3 separate regions of the Homo sapiens genome follow, and regions 1 and 2 are each linked to region 3. The links are contacts of gene promoters, found by promoter capture Hi-C in blood cells and fetal thymus (Javierre and others, 2016). All regions are on one chromosome and are shown on one strand. Each heading gives the region's core, a stretch centred on a gene start or on the middle of the fragment in contact. The rest is flanking DNA. Distances are from core to core; before and after follow the strand shown. Region 1 holds the start of PIK3CG (phosphatidylinositol-4,5-bisphosphate 3-kinase catalytic subunit gamma). Region 2 holds the start of CCDC71L (coiled-coil domain containing 71 like). Region 3 holds the start of RINT1 (RAD50 interactor 1).

Region 1 (3,435 bases), core at 360-2,859, 1.3 Mb after region 3:
TGACTGAGCCAGGACAGGGAAGGGATCTATTGAATGGTCTGGGGAACAGGGCTGGCCAAGCTCATGGTCCCTCTGAGGTCAGCCCTCCCACCCTCAAACCTCCTCCCACTCCACCCACCCCCAGGAACCCTCCCACACACTCTGGGTAAAACACAGCTTGGCAAGCTCTCACATCATGGCTTGGTGGCTACAGTGTGTTGATCTTCCCTCAGGACCAACCAAGAAAGCTAGCCTTGGTGCTTCTAAAGCTGCCAGCCTCCTAAGGGAGTATTCCTATATAGGAATATACTTTGAGAAGCTGATAAGACCCCTCTAAATATTTGGGAGGCAGCCTTTGAATTAAATTATTTGCCTGCTGATGTCAACTATTAGAGTGCTATTTAAAAGTTAAAACCCAAGAGGCATATGTAAAAGGAAATAAGTCAAATCAATCATTTATCTCAATATCAGAGTAATTCAGAGGAACTCTTAATTACATACCTCCAAGAGACTTGTGAGGTCAACTCCATTCTATCTGCTGCCCTTGAAGCTCAGCTGGAGTCCCTCAACACCCCGATTGGAGGATGAACTCTAGCATAGGGAATTCTGAGATGGAGGGAGGGGGCGCTGGTTCAGGATGCTTGGAGGTTCTAGAAAGAACTGAGGTCACCTGGAAGATACAACGCTACTCTAAAAATGATTCAGGATGGCTTTTCTATGCATTCTCTACTCCCATAGGAATCAGGGGCCACCTCCCAGGATGGAATCTGCCTGATGCTGTAACAGTGTTCAGCTCCCCAATTTCCCCATGATAACAGGCAACCTCCTTCTGTTTTGTCTACAGTTAATTAATCAGTCATTGCTGACAGTAAGGCTCCATCCTCAACACAGGATATTTTCTGAAGCATTAATTTTTGTTTCAATAGTTGATCCTTGTTTGGAATATAATGTGTTACAATGTAGTGGTACTTAGTATTAAAATCAAAATACCTTTTTATTCATCTTTCAATTTTAATACTTTTAGCATTTCAACCATTATTTGAAGGGTTACTTACTGCAGTATGTCACATTTATATACACACATGCACATGCTGCAGTGCTTTCAGTTTGAGCCAGTGATATTTTAGGCCCCAAATGCTCTGAAAAAATAGAGAAAGCTCTCACCAAGCTAAGGAAGTGAGCTTGCAGACCATGCCTTTAAAAATTTTCAGCTTGATAACTTAGTCCTCAAGATGACTAGGTTTCTCTTCCCCCACCCCTCAGTTAGCATGTGCGAACAAGGATTCTTTTGAATTCCCAGGAGGGGAATGAGTTTAATTTGACTGGTAAAAGTCTTCCTAATAGGATACCTAATACTGTGGCTCTTAGAACTAGCTACAAAGATATTTCATATGTTTATGTCTCATAATGGGTAATTTTGGTTTGGATTTATGTCATTTTGTCTCAGTATCACAATTTTTGAAAAATTAGTTCAAAGAGAAAAAAAAAAGAAAAGAAAAACCATGGTAAACATTGCTCAGTCTCATACTCCTACCCTCTCTATGCTAAAACAGGAAATGCATTTCTGACACTTTTAAAATGAGCAATCACACGTATAATCAACTTGGTTAAAACTTCCTTCCTGGTAACTGCAACACTTCCTCTGCATCTGGATATGAAGGGAGCCCCAGAAAAGCGGAAGAATTTAGACGCACACTGGGTAGGTTTGAATTTGTTTTGTTTTCAAAAATTAAACAAATGATCCTTCAGCATCATCGCCTCCGCTGCTTTATCAGGTATTGCTTCCTTCTATTTTTTGCTCTTTGTGGGGTCTGACTCGGAATAGTGGCACTTCCTTCTCGGCTAGATTATCTGAAACTGTTGTCGGTTCTTGAGATGATACTACCACCGAATGTCTGTGTTTCATTGTCTAGTCCAACCTGTATTGTGGATATCTACAACGTTCCGGCAATAGTTTTGCAGGTGCATCACATTTTTGTTTTTGTTTTGGGAGGAAAAGGGAGGGCACGGCAGCCAGGCTTCATATTCCTACAAGTGCATGCTTCAAGATTACTGTACTTACAGTGTTTCCAACATCTTCTCATAAAAGGGGAAAGCTTCATAGCCTCAACCATGAAGGAAACCAGTGAGTATTAGTCAGCCTGTTTTCCTCTGCATCTTATAAGATCGTTTGGTATCACTGAGGCAGAAGTTATTGCTGTGTATTTATATGCTGCCTAAATTTGGACATGTTTTATTTCAAGTTAGTGTCAATATCAATGTATCTTACAGTTCTCTTCTTTGTTAGTTATTCTATAATGTAGCAAAAGACCAAAATGAATGTTTTAAGCCACAAGAGACAGTTCTTTGGGACAGTTGGTTTCACTTACTAAGTATAACTTCATATTTTAAGAGAGGGAATATTGGTTTTAAAAGTTAAGCCAAGATTTGAACATAAGTTTGGATCAAATGAAATTTGTCTTTCTTATCTTCTTATCAAGCTCTCCTTTTTGGTATACATCAAATGCTCCACTATTTCTTAAGGAAATAATGTAGTTTTAAGTCTAACATTAGTTATTTAAGAGAGTAAACGATATTTTCTGAAACATTAATTTTTTGTTTCAATAATTGATTCGTTTAGAATATAATGTATTACAATGTAGTGATACTAAACATTGAAAGCAAAATACCTAATCTTTCAGTGTTAATACCTTTCAAATTTCAATTATTATTTGAAGGATTTCCTATTGCAGTATGTCCTATTTATACATAAGTGCTTTGTGAAGGGTAGGTACTTACTGAATTTTGTGGAAAGAGTGAGTAGGTTAATGAGAATAAATTTGTGAATTTGTGTTACAAAAATGAAAATATTAGAGCAAAAAAGAAGTTAAATGATTGGGGGTCTTAACAGAAGGTCACTGGAGTCCAGAAATCCTGCCTTCCATCCTGTAGCTCCTCCATTATTAAGTAGAGACAGATCAAATGAATTTTAATTAATTAATTAAACAATGTTAAAATTACCTAAATGTTCCTATTGGGAGAGTACAGCCTTGGGTGACTCTTCTAAGATACTGCCCTAATATAGCAGTGACAGCCAGAATGCTGACAAATTCCATGATTCAAAATTTTACATATCTGCAAATGGTTTTGACTGTAACTTTACTAATTCCGATATGTTTTAGCTTTACAAATGAAATGACTTGCTTTCCTAATTAGAAAGAAAAAATGAAACCAAGAGGCAGGAAATTTATTAGGGAGTAGATCCTAGGTCCAGGCAGTTTGAAAACAGGCAACGTGAAGCAAGGCTGGGTGAGGTGTCTGGGTTCCAAGAAGTGTGAGACTTAACAAAGAGGAAGTAAGTTAAAGGCCTGTTTTCAAAGTGAGATTTTTTGGCATCTCGTGTTGCACCTTGTAAACTGGGACTTGAACCTTAACTGTACTATTTTAGTAATCTATATGTTTCAGTATGTTTAAGAA
Region 2 (3,467 bases), core at 510-3,009, 1.1 Mb after region 3:
TAACAAGTTAACTTTTCCTAAACAAAAGTTTTCATGTGTATTCTACCATTTTTAGGAGCTCAGTAAATATAAACATTGTTTCAATACAAAACCTTTAAAAATACCTTGAAAATGTTTAAACAGTTGTATTTTGCATGTCTTTGTTTGTAATCACTGAGCCCATACAAATCCTTGCACTACTAACAGTCACAAGCTTGAACCTCTTAAAAAATATCCTCGATCAAAGCTTTGGAATCCAGTAAAAATTAGGAAACGAGTGGGCTTCAGAATACCCTGAGCACAAACTAGTGCAACACCACATGTTCGAACTTCTGTCCACAAAGAGGGGTGACAGTGAAATAGAAAAAGGGGGAGATAAAGAACAAGTAAATTCTGGCTTTATTACACAAGCACGAAACCAAATTCCTTTGGAAAAATAATGTCTTCGGAGGACTTCCAGACCAGTGAGGTAGAGTCCAACAGTGAGAAAACGGATCTGCCCCTAAGGTCCTGGAGACGTCTCAATCGGTGGTCAGGAAGAAAGGGACCTCCCCTGCGGGTCCAGCTGTCCCCTCCCTCCGCAGGCCGGGTACGGGAGGCAGCAGAGGGCACACCTGCCCCAGCGTCCAAGACGACCGCGCCGCGGCCCGGGACAGGGACAACCATCCGGCAACTTCTTCGCGCGTAAAGTGCATTGGGGGCCGGGGTCCTGGCCGGATCTGTAAACACTCGACTGACACTTGTTCATTCCTCCGGGCGGAAGGCCTGTCCCAAGGTCGGGGCCGGCAGGAGGCGCCCTGGAGGCCGCACCTCATGCCCGGGGCACCGGGAAGCGGCGGAGCCTCACCATGGGTTCCAGGTTCACTCGCAGGACCTGGCGCGCCCTGCGCCGCGCTGCCGCCAGGCTGCGCTCGCCCCACACGTCGCTGCCGACGCGGATGGTGGGGAAGGTGGTCAGCGTCGGGGTGGCCGCCCTCCAGATCTCCTCCAAGGTGCGGCCCCCGAAGCAGGGCCCGGGGGCCACGGGCTTGGCCGGGCAGCTCTCCTCGGGGGGCGGCGGCGGTGGGGGTGGCGGCCGGGGCTTCCTCCTGCGGGCAGCGGCCGCCCGGGCTCCGCGGCGCCTCCTCCTGGCCGCTGCGCGCGGAACCGGCCGGCGCGCCTGGCCGCGGGCTGTAGGGGGCCCCGGGGGGTCGGGTACCAGGGCCCGGCAGGAGGAGTAGCCGTAGACGTCCTTGCTGCGCAGGATGTGCGGGGAGAACTGGTGCTTGAGGCTGCAGAGGAAGCTCCAGAGCTCCGCGTCCGAGCTCATGAACTCCGTGCTGCGGGGCATGAAGAGCTTGAAGGCGTCGCCCAGCGCCTTGGTGCTGTCAGCCAGCGACAGTTGCGACCGCGAGTACACCACCTTCTCCTCCCGCGCCTCCAACCCAGCCCCGTCTTCTGCCCTAAAGTCGCCGCCCCGGGCGGCCGTGGCCGGGGCGACCGGGCGCCGGCGCCGCCGCCTCTTCATACTGCGCCGCATCGAAGGCCGCTCCGGGCCACTCACGCTCGCCGGGTCCCACTACTGCCGCCGCCGTCCCAGTCCGCGTTGGCTCCGCGGCGGCGGCTGCTGCTGGCGTCTCTCGCTACTTTTCTCGCCTCCGCCGCCGCCCCTCCCCCTCCGAGGGCGGAGGACGCGGGCGAATATCCTGCTGCCCGGTACAAGATGGCGGCCGGCGCCCACCCCTGGGCTTTGTCATTGGACGGCGCCTCGCCCCCCTGGTTTCTCTTTCTTCTCCTCTCTTGCCTCTTTTCGCCGGCTGCCTTTCTTTAAATGTGCCCGCCTCAGGCCCCTCCCACCGCAGCCCCGACTCCACCCATTGGGTGCTCTCAGAAGAGGGGCGGGGACTGATGGGGGAGAGGCCAGTTCCTGGAAGATGGTGCTGGGGTGGGTGATGGCCTTTGAACGTAAGTCAACGGTTGGGTGGATCTAGGAGGGCTGCCACGTCTAGAGTAAGAGGGTGGATGTTGGCTACACCATGGGAAGAGTGACTCTTAGAGTGAGGGGGTGTGCAGTTGTGGATTGAGCTGGGAGCTCTACCAGTGTGGATAACAAAGGGAGATTTCCCTGAAGGATGTTCCTGGTATCATCACAGCTAGGGAATTTGGGTTTAAGTCTAGGGGAAATGGGCCTTTCGCAATTCCCATCCACCCTCTCAAAGGCCTCTTCTGGCATCTTCATTCAAAACTCTTCCCTGTCTTGACCCCAGCCCATCTCAAGAAGCCAGTAGTAATCCAGAATCATTCAGGTAATGTGCGTGGCTGGCAGCTGAGAGATTTTAGTCTCCCTCTGGACACTGGAGCCATCTTCATATTTAAGAGAGACCCTGCTTATCCAGAAAGCAAAACATGTCATACCCTATAAAACTAAATACTCTTTGCTCAAGTTGATCAAAGATCTATTACAATAAAGCCATTCTGTGAAAAGAAAATATAGTTTTAAATACACAGTTCTTTATGGATGCCAATTCGTTTTTCATTTAGTTTTAAAATGTCAAAGCCACCCCTATCATTTAGAAAGGATGCATCATCGCAGACAACAGATAAGGTTTCGTTGAAAAACACAAATTGTTCAAAACACATTACCTTTTGTATTGGGAGGAGAGTAGTGGACATCCTTTAGTCATCTTTTCTGTCCTCTATACCTAACTCAGTTCCTGTCAGGTAGTGGACACTCAATGTGTTTGCCGAATGAATCAATGAAATACCACCGATTATCCCAAATAGAGTCAGAAATGTTGAAACTGCTTAGAACAGGACAATTAGATATTTTATATTGCAATTTTCACAGAACTCCTTTAAATTTCTTAAGGTTAAAAGAAAAAATCTCCTGACACTTAGAACTTTGAGGTGGGCATGTGGATTTTACCCAGGAAACATCTTATTTTGCAGTAGTGAACAAATAAAGTATAGGAGTTTTGTGATTTACATGTAGTTGCTAATGGTTTCCTCAAATATTTGACCTGAAAGAGACCTAGTTCATTCTCCTTATTTAACAGGTGAGGAAATCTGTACCATAGAGGTTCAGTAACACAGCTGGCTGATAGCAGAACTGGGATTCTAAATCCTTCGATTTCTAATCTAGTGATCTTTGTATTTCACTGAAGGTTTTTCAAACTGTGCTGTCCAGACTCTAAGGAATTCAATAGAACATGCTTTATGCATAAGTAGAATGACGAAGGACAGAGCTGTACCCCTATTCCTACTTCCACCCCACCCAGAATTGAGCAGTTTTTCTCTGTCTTATAATAGATTTATGAATAATATTTTGTTTGTTCAGTTTCAATAAAACCTAAAATAAATAATTTGAAAGCTCTACACCAGAGATGTCAAATTCTTGAAAGCTCTCACCACACAATGAGTTTATGGCAAAAATAAAACTCCACACAATGGGCTTATGGCAAAAATAAAACATCTAACCAGGAACCAGCTCTCTAGCAAAATCATGGTAA
Region 3 (3,580 bases), core at 477-2,976:
ATTGAGATGCTTCCCAACACCTTTTTCATTCCAGTTGCATTCTGCCCTGGCTAAGCAAGACAAATTCCTGTCCCTTGTGCCGCCATGAGCTGCCCACTGATGACTACACTTATGAGGAACACAGACGAGATAAGGCTCGAAAACAGCAGCAGCAGCAGAACCGACTGGAGAACCTCCATGGAGCCATGTACACGTGAGGAGGCTGGGGCTGAGCGCCGGTCCTCTGTGTCTTCCCTACAAACCTTGAATCCTCATTAAAATTTCTTTACCCGTCCCCCGCCCCGCCCCAGAAAAAAAGGCCGGGCGCAGTGGCTCACACCTGTAATCCCAGCACTTTGGTACGCCAAGGCGGGCAGTTCACCCGAGGCCGGGAGTTCGAGACCAGCCTGACTAACATGGAGAAACATCGTCTCTACTAAAAATACAAAATTAGACGGGCGTGGTGGTGCATGCCTGTAATCCCAGCTACTTGGGAGGCTGAGGCAGGCGAATCGCTTGAACCTGGGAGGCGGAGGTTGCTGCGAGCAGAGATAACGCCATTGCACCCCAGCCTGAGCAAAAAAAAAACAAACACACATGTACACTATAAATATATACGATTATGTTCCCATAATAGGTAATTTAAAAAATAGTATCCTTGTTTTTTTTTTTTTTTTTAAATGAGACGGAGTCTTGCTCTGTCGTCCAGGCTAGAGTGCAGTGGTGCGGTCTCTGCTCACTGCACGCTCCACCTCCCGGGTTCACGCCATTCTCCTGCCTCAGCCTCCTGAGTAGCTGGGACTACAGGCGCCCACCACCACGCCTGGCTAATTTTTTGTATTTTTAGTAGAGACGGGGTTTCACCATGTTAGCCAGGATGGTCTCGATCTCCTGACCTCGTAATCTGCCTGCCTCGGCCTCCCAAAGTGCTGGGATTACAGGCGTGAGCCACAGCGCCCAGCCATCCTTGTTTTATGCTTGCAATAGTAATTTGTAGCTCGATTATATATCTCTGTGCACATGTATTTGATTTTTCTTCTCACCGTGTGGTTTCTTTTTCCTCTGAGGGTTGCTTTCCCCCCCCCTTGTTTGTTATGGTCTCTATGGTACTCCTTCCGTGTTAGTTTGTTTAAGAGGCTGTCAAGTCCACAGGTCCTCTACACAACCCTTGCTGCTAGGTAGCTCCCTTTCCTCCTCCCTGGTAAAAGACAGGGTTTTGGGCGAAACACATGTTAGATGCTCTGTTCTCTTCATTCAGCTCCCAGAACGCTTATAACCACCTCTACACCCTCTAGGCAGGAAATCAGAAGCTCATCTCTAGGGACTCTGACCAACGTTAAAAGAAATATCTAAAGATACTGACATTCATTGGAAACCCCCAACTAAATATTCGAACCAAATAACCCTGCACCGAAGCTCCTAGTCAACAAGCCCCCCACACTCTCAGAACATCTGGATATTGCCTAAAATATAAATTTAAATTATTCATATTGAATTTAAGGCGTTGGGAGAGGGATATCTTAAAGTTCCATCATTAAGAGCTTCAATAAAGTGGAGGGGACTTTTACCGCGGTGGAGTGAGCGAATCCCTTCTCTGGAGCTCCATAGGGGAGGGTGCCCGCTTCCTGAGTGGCCGTTCCGACCTCCGGTCAGGAGGGGGAGGAACAGAGCACGGCCGGCGGCTGCACGGGCAGGGCCTCTCTGGGCTGAGAGGAAGAAACCAGTGAGACATCGAGAGGAAGTCGCTGTGGCACTCAGTCCTACGGCCTCCGAGGCTGGGTAGTGAGTGTGTCGCTGGCCTTAGCCAGACTCCACAGGCCACGCTGGCTGCGAATGGAGCCGAGGACTCGCGCGGAGGCGAGATGCTACCAGCCGGCGAGATCGGCGCCTCTCCTGCAGCCCCGGTGAGACGGCCCTGGCGTCCCTGGGAGGGGACATTGGTGGCCCATTGAGGTGGCACAGACCTCCCGGGGGAGATAGTCCCGGTGCGGTGGCCCTGTAAGCTTGTGAAGGTGCTTCCTGCGGCTTAGATTAGAGGCCCTTGTAAGACCTCCTAGAGGAGGCGGTAGTCCCCGTGAAGTGGCTTTGGCGGCCCTGGTGAGATGACAGATTTCTCTAGGGAGGTGGCTCTAGTGAGCAGGCAAGGTAACTCCAGGTCCTGCGGAGGTGACACACACCTCCTGGGAAGGTGGCGGTGGCACCAGGACAGTGGCACTTTGAGGTACCTGATTCGGACGGCCCTGGTCGCTCAGAAAGTGGGAGAGCGTCTGGAACCTCTCTTGCCTCCAGTGGGTGCCCTTTGGGAGCCCCGTATGCTTTCCATCCACGACTTTAATCTTAATGTGCTTGTCACATCTGTTCTTCTTCTAGTGCTGCTCTGAAAGTGGTGACGAAAGGAAGAACCTCGAGGAGAAAAGTAAGCCAGCTCCAAACACCTTAGCTTTTTCTTCCCGCCCAAACTCAGCCTTCCAGGGTCTGCAATATAGAAAGGTTCTTTGCCTATCTTTTAGATGCAGTACCGTTTTCTGCACAATATGCTTATATGGTAATACTGATGACCATGATACACATATTTTTGTCTTTCTAAAATTGTAAAATATGGGATGCTTTGGAGAAGAGCACTTCCCGATCCATACCTAGTACAGGGACTAGAGTGTTTTCGCTGGAAGTCTGCCTATCATACAGTACTCAGAATAATTGGGGCCTGCCTGTCATTTTAATGAAACATCAACTTACTAAGCATCAGGAATTTGGAGGGGCCCATGATCTAGGACAGACGACCACCACCCTAATTGGGTTCAAAGGAGGCAAATGACAGTTGTTTAGTTCACCTTCAGTAAATTGGCAATTTAAAATTGCTCTGGCAAGAGCACAACGGATAACTTGGGTTCTGGATCTTGGACTGGACAGGAAAGGGGGAAAAGGTCAGTACCACCATTTCCTCCCTAGTACGGGAGTATATGTCAGGGTTGTGGACTTTTGCCATTTTACTTTGATGGCAGGTTATTGCAAATCAAGGGCTCTTTAGGGACCTTTGAAGTGACATTTTTTGGGAGAGGAAGGGGAAAAGCATGTGATAGCTCTGCTATTGGGATTTTTGGTTCTTTTGACTGTGGCAAACAGTTGGGAATGTGTAGCAGTAAGAAAAACGGTGCCCACATTAGCACATGGCCCTTAGGAGTAAGATTTGCCCTTAACATTAGCGGCTGATAGAATCTGCCTCAGAAAGAAGGCTCTGAGCAGTCCATAGCACATGACTGTCATAACTGCCACATCTCAGCTCCTTTTTCTTGAAGGATTTCAGAGTGCCTTGTATCTCTCAGTTAAACCCTTCCCTTTCCATTTTCCACCTTTGCCTCATTCAGATGCCTGGAAAGTAGTCTGATGCCTACTGAGCTGTCATTTTAATAAAATAATAGATGTAGACTATCATATCAAGGACTTTGACCTTGTTCCTCTTTCCACAGCTCAAACTGCTTTGCAGTTAGGAGTGCTCTTTACAAAAAATAGAAAAGGAGACACATAAAAACCTCCCAAACCACCGGTGTGTCATTTTGAAGAATGTCATTTCACTAAGAATGTACTATGCCACATTTGAATG

What was found. Contacts are between HindIII fragments. The CHiCAGO score rates a contact against its expected background, and 5 or more counts as called.
Region 1: the fragment with the promoter of PIK3CG here is called in contact with the fragment with the promoter of RINT1 in region 3 in 1 of 17 cell types (activated CD4 T cells); the score reaches 13.2 in activated CD4 T cells.
Region 2: the fragment with the promoter of CCDC71L here is called in contact with the fragment with the promoter of RINT1 in region 3 in 7 of 17 cell types (total CD8 T cells, non-activated CD4 T cells, naive CD8 T cells and 4 more); the score reaches 10.2 in total CD8 T cells.

The regions. Positions count from the first base shown.
Region 1 is chr7:106,863,673-106,867,107 of GRCh38, forward strand. It overlaps PIK3CG (phosphatidylinositol-4,5-bisphosphate 3-kinase catalytic subunit gamma), which reads left to right and starts at 1,610. Exons shown (of 11, transcript NM_001282426.2): 1 at 1,610-1,754. RefSeq lists an enhancer at 1,682-1,781. The HindIII fragment of the contact is 4,956 bases long and covers 1-2,073 here.
Region 2 is chr7:106,659,399-106,662,865 of GRCh38, forward strand. It overlaps CCDC71L (coiled-coil domain containing 71 like), which reads right to left and starts at 1,760. Exons shown (of 1, transcript NM_175884.6): 1 at 1-1,760. The coding sequence starts at 1,498. The coding sequence ends at 791. RefSeq lists an enhancer at 534-583 and a silencer at 934-1,203. The HindIII fragment of the contact is 5,408 bases long and covers 225-3,467 here.
Region 3 is chr7:105,530,475-105,534,054 of GRCh38, forward strand. RINT1 (RAD50 interactor 1) reads left to right here and starts at 1,727. Exons shown (of 15, transcript NM_021930.6): 1 at 1,727-1,883; 2 at 2,350-2,395. The coding sequence starts at 1,842. It also overlaps the pseudogene LOC100131785. RefSeq lists enhancers at 1,008-1,057, 1,345-1,922, 1,508-1,807, 1,898-2,077, 1,923-2,499. The HindIII fragment of the contact is 4,822 bases long and covers 1-1,980 here.